Linked DNA regions of Homo sapiens: region 2 is linked to region 1. Evidence: promoter capture Hi-C in human tissues and cell types (Jung and others, 2019). All regions are on one chromosome and are shown on one strand. The core of a region is centred on a gene start or on the middle of the fragment in contact, and the rest is flanking DNA. Distances in the headings are between cores, read along the strand shown. Region 1 holds the start of KCNS1 (potassium voltage-gated channel modifier subfamily S member 1). Region 2 holds the start of KCNK15 (potassium two pore domain channel subfamily K member 15).

Region 1 (6,487 bases), core at 2,210-4,709:
CGTGGCTCCCAGCGAGCGCAGCCCGGTGGAATGGCGCGCCAACTTGAGTACGCGGAAGATGCGCATGAGGCGGAACACCTGCACCACCTTGCCCAGGTGGCCGAACTCCTTGCCGCCCTGGTCGCCCAGTGCCACACCAGCCAGCAGCGTGAGATAGAAGGGCAGCACAGACACAATGTCGATGAGGTTGAGCGGGTGGCAGAAGAAGTTGCGCGTACTGGGCGCCAGCAGGAGGCGCGACGACACCTCGAAGCTGAACCAGGCGATGCAGAAGTACTCGAGGCGTCGCAGCACCGGGTCGTCGCGCACGCCTTCCGGGCTGCGGCCCGCGGCCACCGCAGCCACGGCGGCCGCCGCCTCGCGGGCCTGGTACTCGGGCAGGCTGTGGATGCACATGGCGGCGATGGAGGCGAGCACCACGCTGATGGAGACGCAGCTGAAGAGCTTGCTCGGCAGCGAGTAGCCCGGGTTCTCCATGGTCAGCCAGAGGCGGCGGCGCAGGCGGCCACAGCGCGCCGCGCCATAGCGCGCCAGTTCTCGCTGCACGTCGGAGATCTCGTCGGGGCACGGGTCCACGCTGCTCGGCGTGTCGCTGTCCTCGTCCCAGGCGTGCGGCTGGGTCAGCCGCCTCTCCAGGTAGCGCGCGCGGCAGCACGCGGCAAGCGCGTTCTCGCCTAGGCCCCAGTAGTCGGCCTCCTGGCCAAAGGCGAAGACGCACAGCTCGTCGAGCACGTGCAGGTGGCCAGTGCGGTAGAAGTGCAGCAGGCTCAGGAAGAAGCCCGGGTGCCGGTCGAAGTAGAATTCGCGCGCCGCCTCGTCGTAGTCGTCGCACAGGCGCCGCGCCTGCTCCTCCGACGCCGCGGCCTGCAGGCGGCCCAGCCGCGTGCCCGGGAAGCGCGCCAGGGCGCGCGCGCTCAGCTGCCGCCGCACGCCACCCACGTTCACGCGCAGCGCCTCGTCGCTTCGCCGCCAGCGGATCCCGGTGTCGGGGCCCGGGAACTCGCTCACAAAGGTTTCAGTGCTCCTCCCTGCGGACACCAGAAGGGCGCGCTGAGGAGTTCCCGGGCTTCCCTTCCTGGAAGACCAGGTTAAAATCCCCTCCTCCATCCAACCAGCCAAGGGGTGTTGGAGGCTGTGTGTGAAGCATCTGGTATGCAGGAGGCGCTCAGTAGATGTCAGGTGCCCTCTGGACTCAGAGTCAGGCCTGGCTTTGACTATCCTTCATCCCCATCATTTGACTTTGGCCAAATCACTGACCCACCCCACCCCCATTTCATTTTTCTCCTTTGGAAAGTAAATGCTGAGATCTACCTGGAAGGATATGAAAGCGATGGAATCGCAGGATGTCCTGGCACCTAGTGGGTGCTCACATAGGATGTCTCCTTTTCCAGGACAAACTTGGATTTATTTACACCAAAGGTCTACTGTGGGATCTTGGGCCCGCCAGCCCTCTGAACCTGTTTCTTCTGCAAAATGAGGATAGTAACACTTACCTCCTAGGGGTGTTGGCAGCACCACTTTAGACCGGAGGTTCTCATAGTGTGTTCCCCGGACCAGCAGCATCAGCATCACCTGGGAATTTGTCAAAGATGCAAATTCTCAGCCTGCCATCGATTTACTGAATCGGGAACTCTAAGGGTGGGGTCTAGCACTTTGTGTTCTAACAAGATTGGAAAGTGATTCGGCTACATAGTCAAGTTTGAGAGCTCCTGCTTTAGATTATGTAAAGCATCTGTAGAGTCAGCCAGACCTGACCTTGAATCTTGACTCTCTTGTGTCACCTTAGGCAAGTAACATCACCTCTCTGAGCCTCTGTGAAATGGAAATAAAAATATTCACCTCAAAGTGTGGTTATGAAGATTAAATGACCTAGTGTCTTTCTTGGGCTTGGCTCACAGAAGGAATTTAATAAATTATTCACTGGTGTCACTATCTTCTGGAGTCAGGCAAACCTGGGTTTATCTCCACCCCTGACGCACCTGGGGCCTTGAGGAAGCTATTTGTCCTCCAGGTCTCAATTTCCTGCACAACGTAGATAATAGCACCTACCTCCAGGGATGACTGGAGGATTAAGGTAGATTATAGAAAGTGCTCAGCCTTAGTGGATACTCAGGAAGGATTTAGGTTCTTCCACTACCCACTGACTCCTGACTCTGCTGGAATTGGGGGCTAGTGACACCTCCTCACCACTGGCAATCTCATTTGCACTGTGGGTTCAGTAATGCCTAGACTAGGGATTAAGTGTGTGTAAAGCACCTGGGCTTGGCATTAAATGGATTTGGGGTTCCACCCTTAGCTCTATCACTTGTGTGACCTCAGGCCAGTCTCCTTCCCACTCTGGGCTTTAGCTCTTTTACCTCTAGAATGGGGATAATGTTGCTTTGGATGCATCATTATTGTGGTATATGTCAAAGCCCTGGGAAAACAGTAGATGCTCAATAAATGTTAATCCTGTGTACTTCCCTGTGGTCAGACCTGAGTCTACCACTTACTAGCTGCTGTCCTTGAGTGCATTCGTCGCCCTCTCTGGGCTTGTTTCCCTGTCTGTGGAACCGGGTAGCATCATACTTTCCAGGAGAGGCTCAGAGAATTAAATGATGCAAGGTGTTTATCGGCAGCATGGTCCCTGGCACATAATCAATGCACAATAAACGTGTGATGTAGCTCCGCTCCCACCTCCACTTGGATCTCCACCTGCATTTGGCATCAAAAAATGAAATTTCTAATCCAGTTCCATCACCCATTAGAAGCATAATATTGGGCAAATCCCTTCATCCATCAGGAGCTCACTTTCCTGCTCTATGAAACAGGATAATTAATTCAACAAACATTTTCTGACAAGAACCTGAATATCAGTAAGAAAGACCAAGTGACTTGTTCAAAATCACCCAGCTAGTCCATGGCACAGCTAAGGTTGGAGACCAGGTTTTTTTATTTCATTCTCTCTCCACACACTTATTTTGAGCACCTCCTATCTGCTAGTCACTCCTCTGGGCTCCATGCACACCTCACTCGGTTTAATCCCTACACCAACCCTGCCAGGGAGGTTTTCTAATCCCATTTTACAGATGAGCAAACTGTACCAGCCAGGGTCTCCAAAGCGCGGCCACCCCACACTGCTTCCTCCTTGGCGGGGGGTGGGGGGTCTCTTAGAGGGGGTAAGAGCACCAGGAGCCCCAGGCAGCCCCGCCTCCCACTCTGGCTGCCCGGGACCGTCCCGGAGCCACGTCCCTCCCCAAAGGAGGCCCCTTACCTGTGGTGGCACCTCCCGGGCGCCTCGCGTGTCTGTCCCAAAGCCACCGAGGCTGGGAGCCGCTGGCTATACTCGGTCTCGCCTCTGCCCCGCCGGCCCCGCCGAGCCTCCTGCTGCAGGCGGCCCCGCTGCCCTCTCCTTCCTTCTTCCTTGCCTAGTCCCCCGCGGCTGAAGGCCGCATCGATCGCTGCCGGAGGAGGGAGTGAGGCCGCTGGCGGCCGGAGGCGGCGGTTTCTATTCCTGACTCGGCTGGGGGGTGGTGGTGTCTGGAGACTGGGCCTACCTGCAGGGGCATCCTCCGGAGTTACGGGCCGGGAAGGAGGGGTCATTTAGGGCGTGAGGATTCCCCGTAGAGAGGGATTTCAGCAGAAGCTTCTCTGGCAAAGGAACAACAGTAATCATGATTTACTTAATTGAGTGTTTAGTATGTGCCAGGGTACTTCAGCTGCTGCAAGTGATTGATCTCAGTTATTCCTGGCACACACACTTGACAGGGCCAGGATCTTATGTCGCCCATTTTAGGGGTGAGCTCCAGTCATTTTCTCAGACCGTGGGCATCTGAGTTAGGGAGCTGTAGAAGGTGGCCTCATCTCCCTTGGAGCCCCAGGTTCTTCCTAGGTGAGTTGTGAAGCTTGAAACGATCATTTTACCCCTGAGGCGCAGTGTCCTTACCTGCCCACGGGTTCCTGATTCCCACCTGCCAAGTGGGTTGTGAGGGCAGAGAACATGTGCCAAAGAGCTTTGTAGAGGTTGTGAAATCCCCACACATGTACCTGTTGTGTGGCTGCTGTGTGCCTGGTTGGGGAGAGGCTCCTGGAGACTAGGGCCTGGATATGAGCCTTTGCACATATTGTTATTAATAATAATGATAATTACCAACGTTTATTGAGTACTTACCTTGGGTCAAGCACAGACCTCAATCTCACTCAAACTGCAAATTTATCTGTGGGGTAAGTGCTACTATTATTCCTATCTCACAGATAAGAACTGCTTTGAGAGGTGTGGTGACTTGCCGGAGGTCCCATGGCTGACTTCTGAGTCCTCTAGGCCAGCACAGTCCAACACCTATAATGTGAGCCACATATATAATTTTATTTTATTTTATTTTTGATTTTTTGAGATAGAGTCTCACTCACTCTGTTGCAGGCTGGAGTGCAGTGGCACAATCTTGGCTCACTGCAACCTCCGCCTCCTGGGTTCAAGCGATTCTCCTGCCTCAGCCTCCTGAGTAGCTGGGATTACAGGCATGCACCACCATGCCCAGCTAATTTTTGTATTTTTAGTACAGAAGGGGTTTCACCATGTTGGCCAGGCTGGTCTTGAACTCCTGGCCTCAAATGATCCACCTGCCTTGGCCTCACAAAATGCTGAGATTACAGGCATGAGCCACCGCGTCCGGCCCACATATGTCCTTTTACATTTCTGATTGCAACATTTTAAAGAAGTAAAAAACAGGCGAAATTACAGTTACCCCTTAAACAGTGGGGGTTAGGGAAACCACTCCTCCATGCCTAGAAAATTAGAATATAACTTTTGACTCCCCTGAAACTTAACTAGTAATAACTTACTGTTCGCCAGAAACCTTACCAATAATATAAACAGTCGATTGACACATAAATAGTATCTACATATATCTTAGGCATTCACGACATATCTAACTTATTCTTAAGGCTTTTGATATTTCTAGTCTACATGGTTCATCTGTAAGTTTTTTCAAATTGTCACAAATCTCCAAAAATTTTCCAATGTATTTATTGGAAAAAAATCTGCATGTAAGTGGACACTAGCAGTTCAAACTCGTGTTGTTTCAGGATCAACTGTATTTTTAGTGATATATTTTATTAAATCTAAAATATTATGATTTCAACATTGGAATCAGTAAAGAAATTATTGAGATATTTTACATTTTCTTTTTTTTGTACTAAGTCTCTAAAATCCAGTACTAATTTTTCTTATTGCTACATAACAAATTACCACAATTTAGTAGCTTAAAACAATACAAATTTATGATCTCATGGTTTCTGTAGGTCAGAAGTCTGGGCATGGCCTGGCTGGACCCTCAGGGTCTCACCAGGTTGAAGCCAAGGTGTTGGCCAGGGTTGAGGTTCTCATGTGAGCTTCAGAGTTTTCTTCCAAGCTCACAGATTGTTGGCAGAATTCATTTCCTTGTGGTTATAGGACTGAGGTCTCTCTTTTCCTGTTAGCTGTCTCCGAGGGATCAATCTCAGATTCTAGAAGCTGCCCCATAGGCAGTTCATAGCATGAATGCTTGCTTTCTTTCAGGGACATCAGAGTGCTGAATTCCTCTCCTGTAACCAGCCAGAGAAAAATCTCTGGCTTTAAAACTCTCACCTGATTAGTCCAGGCCCACCCAGGGCACTCTCCCTTCTGCCATATAATATACATTCACGGGTTCCACCTACACTTAAAGAGGAGGAGATTATACAGGGATGAGGATCATTGAGGAGGGGTCATCTGAATTCTGCCTCCCATATATAAATCTAGTGTACTAATTTATTTTATTTTTTATTTTTTGAGAGAGATTTTTTGAGATTTATCTATAGCATATCTCAGTTTGGACTAGTCACATTTTATGTGCTCGGTAGCCACACATGGCTCGTGGCTGCCATATTAGACAGCACAGCCCTAGGCTGTGCCACTTTAGTTTTTCCCTCGAAAGAAGAAGTTAGAGCAGGAAGCTGCTTAGTGAGCATCTTGCCCAATTCCCTCATTTGACCAACAGGGAAACTGAGGCAGATTTGCCGAGAAGCAGGTCTTCTGTTTCCTGGCCTAAGAGTTTGTCTGCAGCCTTTGCTACCCCTCAGGACTCAGGAGTTTTCCCTGGAGCTGCAGAGACGGTTTCCAAAATTGAGAGAAAAGACAGACCTATTTCCCAAAGGCAGAAGAGAATGAAACCAGGATCTGGTTTCATCCCCAGATTACACAGTGAGAGGTAAATGAAGTTTTGGTGGAATCTGTGAGCCACAAGAGTGGGAAGGTGGGCCTTATGGGTGGGAAGGACGGGGCATCCCTGTCCTTCATGTACCATGGATGGTCTGTCCCCCAAATTCTCCCTCAGTCCCTGACCAGGTTTAGTCATTGGAATCCATGGGGTTTTACCTTCAGAGTAAGCTTGATTTTGCAGAAAATACAGAAAATTTTGGAATTAAGTAGACCTGGATGTGACGGGCATCTTCTAAGATGTCTCCCAGTGATGTCGGCCTCCTGGTGTTC
Region 2 (6,487 bases), core at 1,749-4,248, 360 kb before region 1:
GCCAGCAGCATCTGGCCTGACAAGGATCATGACCTGGGGAACCGGACAGCCCTGAGTTCAATCCTGGCTCAGCCACAGCCTGGCTGGGAGGACTTGGCAGGTTAAGTATCTCTTGGCAGGTTAAGTGCCTCTGTGTCCTGGGCTGTAAGGTGAGAGTCCTGTGAGTGATGTCTGTGATTATGCCTCGCACAGGCAGAGTGTTTGGCCCTGTCCCTGCTTCTGGAAAAAGAATTTTCGACATCTGCACACAGACAGTTGTGAAAAAGGAGGAGAAGCAGCTACTGGCTAAGGGGCACCTGGATAGTGACACAAAACAGCTTCTATAATCCTCTACATGGTCCTATGGGGTGAGGGTCATTACTACCCCCGTTTCTCAGATGAGAAAACCAAGGCACAGGGAAGTACAAGTGTTCTGTTTATGGACACCTAGTGGTATGGTTTGGCTCTGTGTTTCCACCCAAATTGCATCTCCAATTGTAATCCCTGCGTGTTGAAGGAAGGACTTGGTAGGAAGTGATTGACTTATGGAGGCAGTTTTCCCCATGCTGTTCTCGTGATGGTGAGTGAGTTCTCACGAGATCTGATGGTTTAAAAGTGTTTGGCAGTCCCCCTCCTCTCTCTCTCTCCCGCTGCTATGTAAGACATAGCTTGCTTCCCTTTGGTCTCTGCCATGATTGTAAGTTTCCTGAGGCCTCCTCAGGCATGTGGAACTGTGAGTCAATGAAACCTCTTTCCTTCATAAATTACCCAGTCTCAGGTAGTTCTTCATGGTCGTGTGACAACAGACTAATACACCCAGCTAGGAAGTGGAGGAGCTGGAATTCAAACTCAGGTCTTATTGACTCCAGCTGTGTCCACAACCATGCCCTCATTAACTCTCCCCTGAGTGGGCCCTGCCCTTCCCCTAAGATCAGGCCATTCCCCACATCCCACTGTCTCCACAAACTCTTTTCGGGCTCTTGTTGGGCTGTGGGTCCTTGGAGCCCCACTCACTCCGACTCTGAGACTTCAGCCCAGGTTTCTGCTCCTCTGAAGTCTGAGCAGAAATCGGAATATTAAACTTACTGATGCTGTTGCTAAAAATCAGGCTGAGGTAGTGGCACCAGCACGCTGCTTCCAGCCCACTGAGCTTCATCCTGCTTCTCGGGAGAAGAAGGGGTCCAGGCCCTCTCTACCAGGTACTGGGGCCCAATTCTGCCTGGGAACTGAGTCGGACAGGCACTGGGTTGGACATCCCTACAGGCCCGGGCGTCTGCTCACTTGTGATATCTGTAACAGTGGCTCACACTTCTAAACAAATCCTCAGGGCCAAGCTCAGCTCTCCGGCTCCACATCTACTGGTTCATTTAATCCTCACACCCACTGTATTAGTTCCCTGTTGCCACTGCAATAAGTTATTACAAACTTAGTGGCTTAAGGCAAATGTATTATCTTCTAGTTCTGTAGGGTGGAGGGCTACACAGGTCTCACTGGGCTCAAATCAAGGTATTGGCAGGACTGAGTTCCTTTCTAGCGGCTTCCATATGGAAGTATGTCCTCCTCTGGGACCTGGAGGGCCTAGGCGGCAGGCTGGGCCTCAGGGGCTTAACATACGTCAGCGACTTAATACAACAGAAGCTCAAAACTGGGGCTCCTGATTGGGGGTTGGGGGACAACCTTGCAATGTGTCATTCAGCCCCAGGTTTTTCCCACCTTGTGGGCTCCCTCTCTTCTAAAGACTTTAGTTCTCTGCATTCAGCCGTCTGGTGGGGGAAAGAGATGGAGCACGTGTAGGGCAGGGTTTTATGGGCCAGGCCTGGAAGTGGCATATGTCACTTCTGCCCATGTTCCATGAGCTAAAGCTTGGTCACATAGACCCTGCTAAGTGCAAGAAAGGCTGGGCAATGTGGCCAGCTGGGCGCCCAACTCCACCTCCCCGGTGCATCCCGGATCCCCTCATTTCTCTCCATCTTCACACATTTGGACTACACTAGCCTTCGAACTGGCCTCCACTCCTAGCCACCATCCCTTTTCCCCATGACAGCCAGGGGCTCTTTAAAAAATATGAATCAGATCATTGTGGTGGTGTTGCGTGTGTGTTTGTTTGCCTGTGTTTGTAATACAGCCTTTCCATGGCTTTCAATAAACCCACATAAGGGCTTGTAAGACCCTGTGTGAAGTTGCCTCTTTGCCTTCCTTCTGCTCCCCCAAAGTATCTGCCCCCCAGTTCTCTGGGCTCCAGCGACACCGGCTCCTCTGCTATTCTGGCTGCCAAGTCATGCTCAGTTCTGTTTTAAGCACCACCTTAGATGGTGGGGTTCACCTTCCCCAAGAAACTATCCCTTTTCCTTCTTTCTCACTCCTGTCTTAAATTAGTTTCTTGTTTGTTAGCTGGCCCTCCTCACTAGGATATCACTTTTACTTACAACAGGAATGTTGTTTGCACCAGTAGGTGCTTGGTAAATATTTGTCAGAGGATTGACTGACTGAATGAAAGAAGGAAGGAAGGAGAGAAGGAAGGGAAGAAGAGATGAAGGGACGAAGGGAGGAAGGGAGGGACGGAGGGAGGAAGGGAGGGACGGAGGGAGGAAGGGAGGGACGGAGGGAGGAAGGATGGGAGGGAAGAAGGGAGGGAGGGATGGGGAAAGGAGTGAAAGGAAGGAAGGAAGGAAAGGAGGGAGGGAGGGAGGAAGGGAGGGGAGGGGGGAGGGGAGGGAGGGAAAAAGGAAGGAAGGAAGGACGGAAGGAAGGACGGAAGACTGGCACGAGGTCACAACATGAGTTAGTGGCGGGAACAGGACTTCTGCAGGCCCGGGGTTTGGGCCTTTGCTTCAGATCTCACTATTCACAGACACATGAACCCCGGGCAGGCGAGTGGGAGGCGGACAGGGGAGCGGTTCTTCCGGCCCCCACCCGTGGCGATCCCAGCCTCCAGGTTCCCGGCAGTCGCCCCGCCTCGCCCGTCACAACCCTGCCGCGTGGGGCCGGGGTTGGAGGGGGCGGAGCGCGCGGTCCGGGCACACGGAGCAGGTTGGGACCGCGGCGGGTACCGGGGCCGGGGCGCCATGCGGAGGCCGAGCGTGCGCGCGGCCGGGCTGGTCCTGTGCACCCTGTGTTACCTGCTGGTGGGCGCTGCTGTCTTCGACGCGCTCGAGTCCGAGGCGGAAAGCGGCCGCCAGCGACTGCTGGTCCAGAAGCGGGGCGCTCTCCGGAGGAAGTTCGGCTTCTCGGCCGAGGACTACCGCGAGCTGGAGCGCCTGGCGCTCCAGGCTGAGCCCCACCGCGCCGGCCGCCAGTGGAAGTTCCCCGGCTCCTTCTACTTCGCCATCACCGTCATCACTACCATCGGTGAGCCGCCCGGAGCCTCCCTCCGCGCCCGCTCCAGCCCCAGCCGTCCCGGGGCGCCTCTGGGTTTCGGTCCCACCTCTGCCCCCGCCCAGCTGAGCTACTTTGGACGGGTCATTTCGGCTCACCGAGCCTCCCTCATCTCCTTCGCCTCCCTCGTCTCCCTGGTCTCCTTTGCCCCCCTCTGCTGAATGGAGCTGTCAGCCCACGCAGGCAGGGACGGGAGGAATCAGTAAATCGAGTTTGCCAAAAGGCTGACCCAGGAGTGCTCAGAAAACGTCCAAGGGGCTTGGAGATAGGTGAAGCGGGGCTGGGAGACCAAGTGGCTGGATTTGCTTTTCCTTGCCTGGTTGCCTCACACTTGCTGTGTGACCTTAGACGAGTTGCTCAACCTCTCTGAGCCAGAGTTTTCTCTTCTGTAAAATAGTGTCGCTAATCGGCCTTATCTCAGGGCTGTGGTGAGAGTTATTATTCAGGAGACAGACTATGCACAGACAAGGCCTGTGCTAAAACATGACACATACAGAGCACTACAAAGAAAAGATCATTTTTTTATTATTGCAATTGTTATTGTTACCCCATGAGAATGGGGACCCAGTCTGTCTTAGGGACTGCTGTATGACCCGTGCCTAGCATGCAGTAGATGATCAATAAATACTTGTTAAAGGAATGACTGATAACCACAGGCTCTGGACTCTGCCCTCAGGGATGCAGAGCAGTTCCTTTGGAGCATCTGGACCACCAGCTGTTGCCATGACTACCATCTGGCTGGTACCTGCTGAGCCTAAACCTGGGGGAACAGGAAGGAGAGAAGTGGGCTCTGCAGGGCTCCAGGCTTGGTGCCAGCCACTCCCCAGGCTCCAGCTGTGAACGTCCCGGCACCCCCCCTGGGGCTTGGATCACCAGTCCGAAAGCCAGTGCCTTGGAGAAAGTTTCCCCATAATGCTCTTGCAAGTGAATATGAGCTGTGGTTTTTGCAGTGGAGTTAAAAGTATGAGTTCTGGAATCACAGAGACTGGAGTTCTGGTCTCATCTCTATTGCCACCTGCCTTCTCTGGCAATTGATTCCACCTGTCCAAGCCCTGGTTTCCCCAAAGGCAAAATGCAATTGTTCCTACCTCACTGGGTGACTGCCAGGTTTCAGTGAGGTCAAGCATGTAACATGCTTGGCACAGTGCCTGAAGCCAAGTAGGCACTATTCATTTGTAATAATTCATTATTTGCCAACGTGGCTCCAGCTCTTATTCAGCTCTTTTGCCCCCTCCTGTCCACATGGACACCCCTGCTTCCTATCTTGGTACACCTGAGACCCTCCTGGTTACCGTGCCCACTGGTCTGGGATGCCATCAACTTGTTCTCTCTGCCTTTATCTACATTCTTTGGAGGCTTGCCATGTGGTTTTGGCCTCTTACCCTGGTTCTTTACCTCTGAGGTACGTCTGGGAGGCTGATGTAAGAGACTCAAGTGGAAACAGGAGGAATTTTGCCTTTTCTGGCCACTTGGGGGCACCACCACCCTCTGTGGTCTAGTCCGCTGAAGCCAGCCTTGCAGAGAGCCAGGTGCCAGGCCCCAGGAATTTGGGCTTTGCTTGGATGGGAGAGAGGCACTGAAGCAATGGAGGGTGCTGGTTAATAGCTCAGGCCTGTGGAGGGTGCTGGTTAATAGCTCAGGCCCGTGGAGGGTGCTGGTTAATAGTTCAGGCCCATGGAGGGTGCTGGTTAATAGCTCAGGCCTGTGGAGGGTGCTGGTTAATAGCTCAGGCCTGTGGCCTTTGGGCAGTTTTGTCCCTCTGAACCTAGTTTTCTTATCTATAAAATGGGAATAACAACATGTCATATAGTCATTGGGAGGGTTAAATCTGATAATCCATGCAGAGTACATACATGGGTTAGTTACTGTCATTATTAGTTATTATCATTATTCATTTCACTCTCTGCCAAAACCTGGCACAGTCCCAAACAGCTGGAAGCCTTTTATTCCTAAAGAGACTCTTCTGTTTCTCACCAGCACCCCCTTCAGCTTGGTTTGATTCAATAAACTCTCATTGAGCTTCTGGTCTACGTCAGGCTCTGTGCAGGACCTTGGTGATGGGGACTACACCACCATCGTCCCCGCCCTCAAAGAGCTCAAAGTCTAGTGATGAGCAGACCCCCTTTCTCCCAAAAGTAACAGAGAGGCAAAGTGATAGGGCTATGCAACAGAAATGTGGAAGTGCAGCCACAGGCCTTTAAATGTATGTAGTGCTGATATTCTGAATAAGTTATATATGCACACAGTACACACTTCACAGGGCACAAAAGGGTATGGAATGAAAAGGAATTCTCCCTCCCACCCTGTCTCTCAGCTCATAAATTCCTCTTCCTGGGTCAAATACAGTTGCCAGTTTCTTGTGTGTCCTTCTGGATATATTCTCTGCCTATATATTCCTTTAAAACACACACATTGTATAGACGTTATACACACAGTTTTGTCTCTTACTTTTTTCACTTATAGAATATATGTTGATGTTTTTATGTCAGTCTCTAAAGAGCTGCGTCATCTTGTTTGTAGGGTTTCTCAGCATTGGAACTACTGACATTTGGGGCTGTGGGGACTGTCCTGTGCATTGCAAGATGTTTAGCAGTGTCCCTGGCCTCTACTCTCTAGATGCCAGTAGCACACAGCCATCCCCACTCCTCACCCCCATTTGTGACAACCAGAATGTCTCCAGATGTTGCCAAGTGTCCCCTCAAAGGCAAAACCACCCTCGATTGAGAACTGCTACTCTGTAGTATCCCATGGTTTGGATGGCACTATAATTTATTTAACCAGGCCCCTTTGGATGGACACTTACATTGTTTCTCATTTTCGCTATGACCGACAATGCTGCAATGACGACCCAAGTGCACACATATTTTTGCTCATGTGTGTATATTGAAGGGCTAACTTCCTAACTGTGGAACTACCTTGGTCAAAGGATTTGTATTTTTTACTTTTTGGCAGGTAGGGCCAATCTGTTAGAGGAGGCGCATTCTTCTTGGCCTCCTGACTCTTCCTGGCGTACAGGCTCCTTTGAGAATACCATGAAAGCAACTGCTCCTCTTTCCAGGAAAAGACACACAATGAGATACCCATTCATTCCCCTGCAATGGCGCGGTGTTCCAGGACTCAAGATTGCCCAGTC

What was found. The method cuts DNA at HindIII sites, captures the fragments that hold promoters and counts their contacts. A contact is called where the count stands out against the background at its distance.
Region 2: the fragment with the promoter of KCNK15 here is called in contact with the fragment with the promoter of KCNS1 in region 1 in 1 of the 25 tissues and cell types used here (lymphoblastoid cells).

Annotation. Positions count from the first base shown.
Region 1 is chr20:45,097,668-45,104,154 of GRCh38, forward strand. It overlaps KCNS1 (potassium voltage-gated channel modifier subfamily S member 1), which reads right to left and starts at 3,460. Exons shown (of 4, transcript NM_001322799.2): 1 at 3,254-3,460; 2 at 1,494-1,572; 3 at 1-1,028. The coding sequence starts at 1,569. The HindIII fragment of the contact is 6,202 bases long and covers 1-5,134 here.
Region 2 is chr20:44,742,867-44,749,353 of GRCh38, forward strand. KCNK15 (potassium two pore domain channel subfamily K member 15) reads left to right here and starts at 2,999. Exons shown (of 2, transcript NM_022358.4): 1 at 2,999-3,327. The coding sequence starts at 3,045. KCNK15-AS1 (KCNK15 and WISP2 antisense RNA 1) reads right to left here and starts at 3,361. Exons shown (of 5, transcript NR_132377.1): 1 at 3,099-3,361. The HindIII fragment of the contact is 14,439 bases long and covers 1-6,487 here.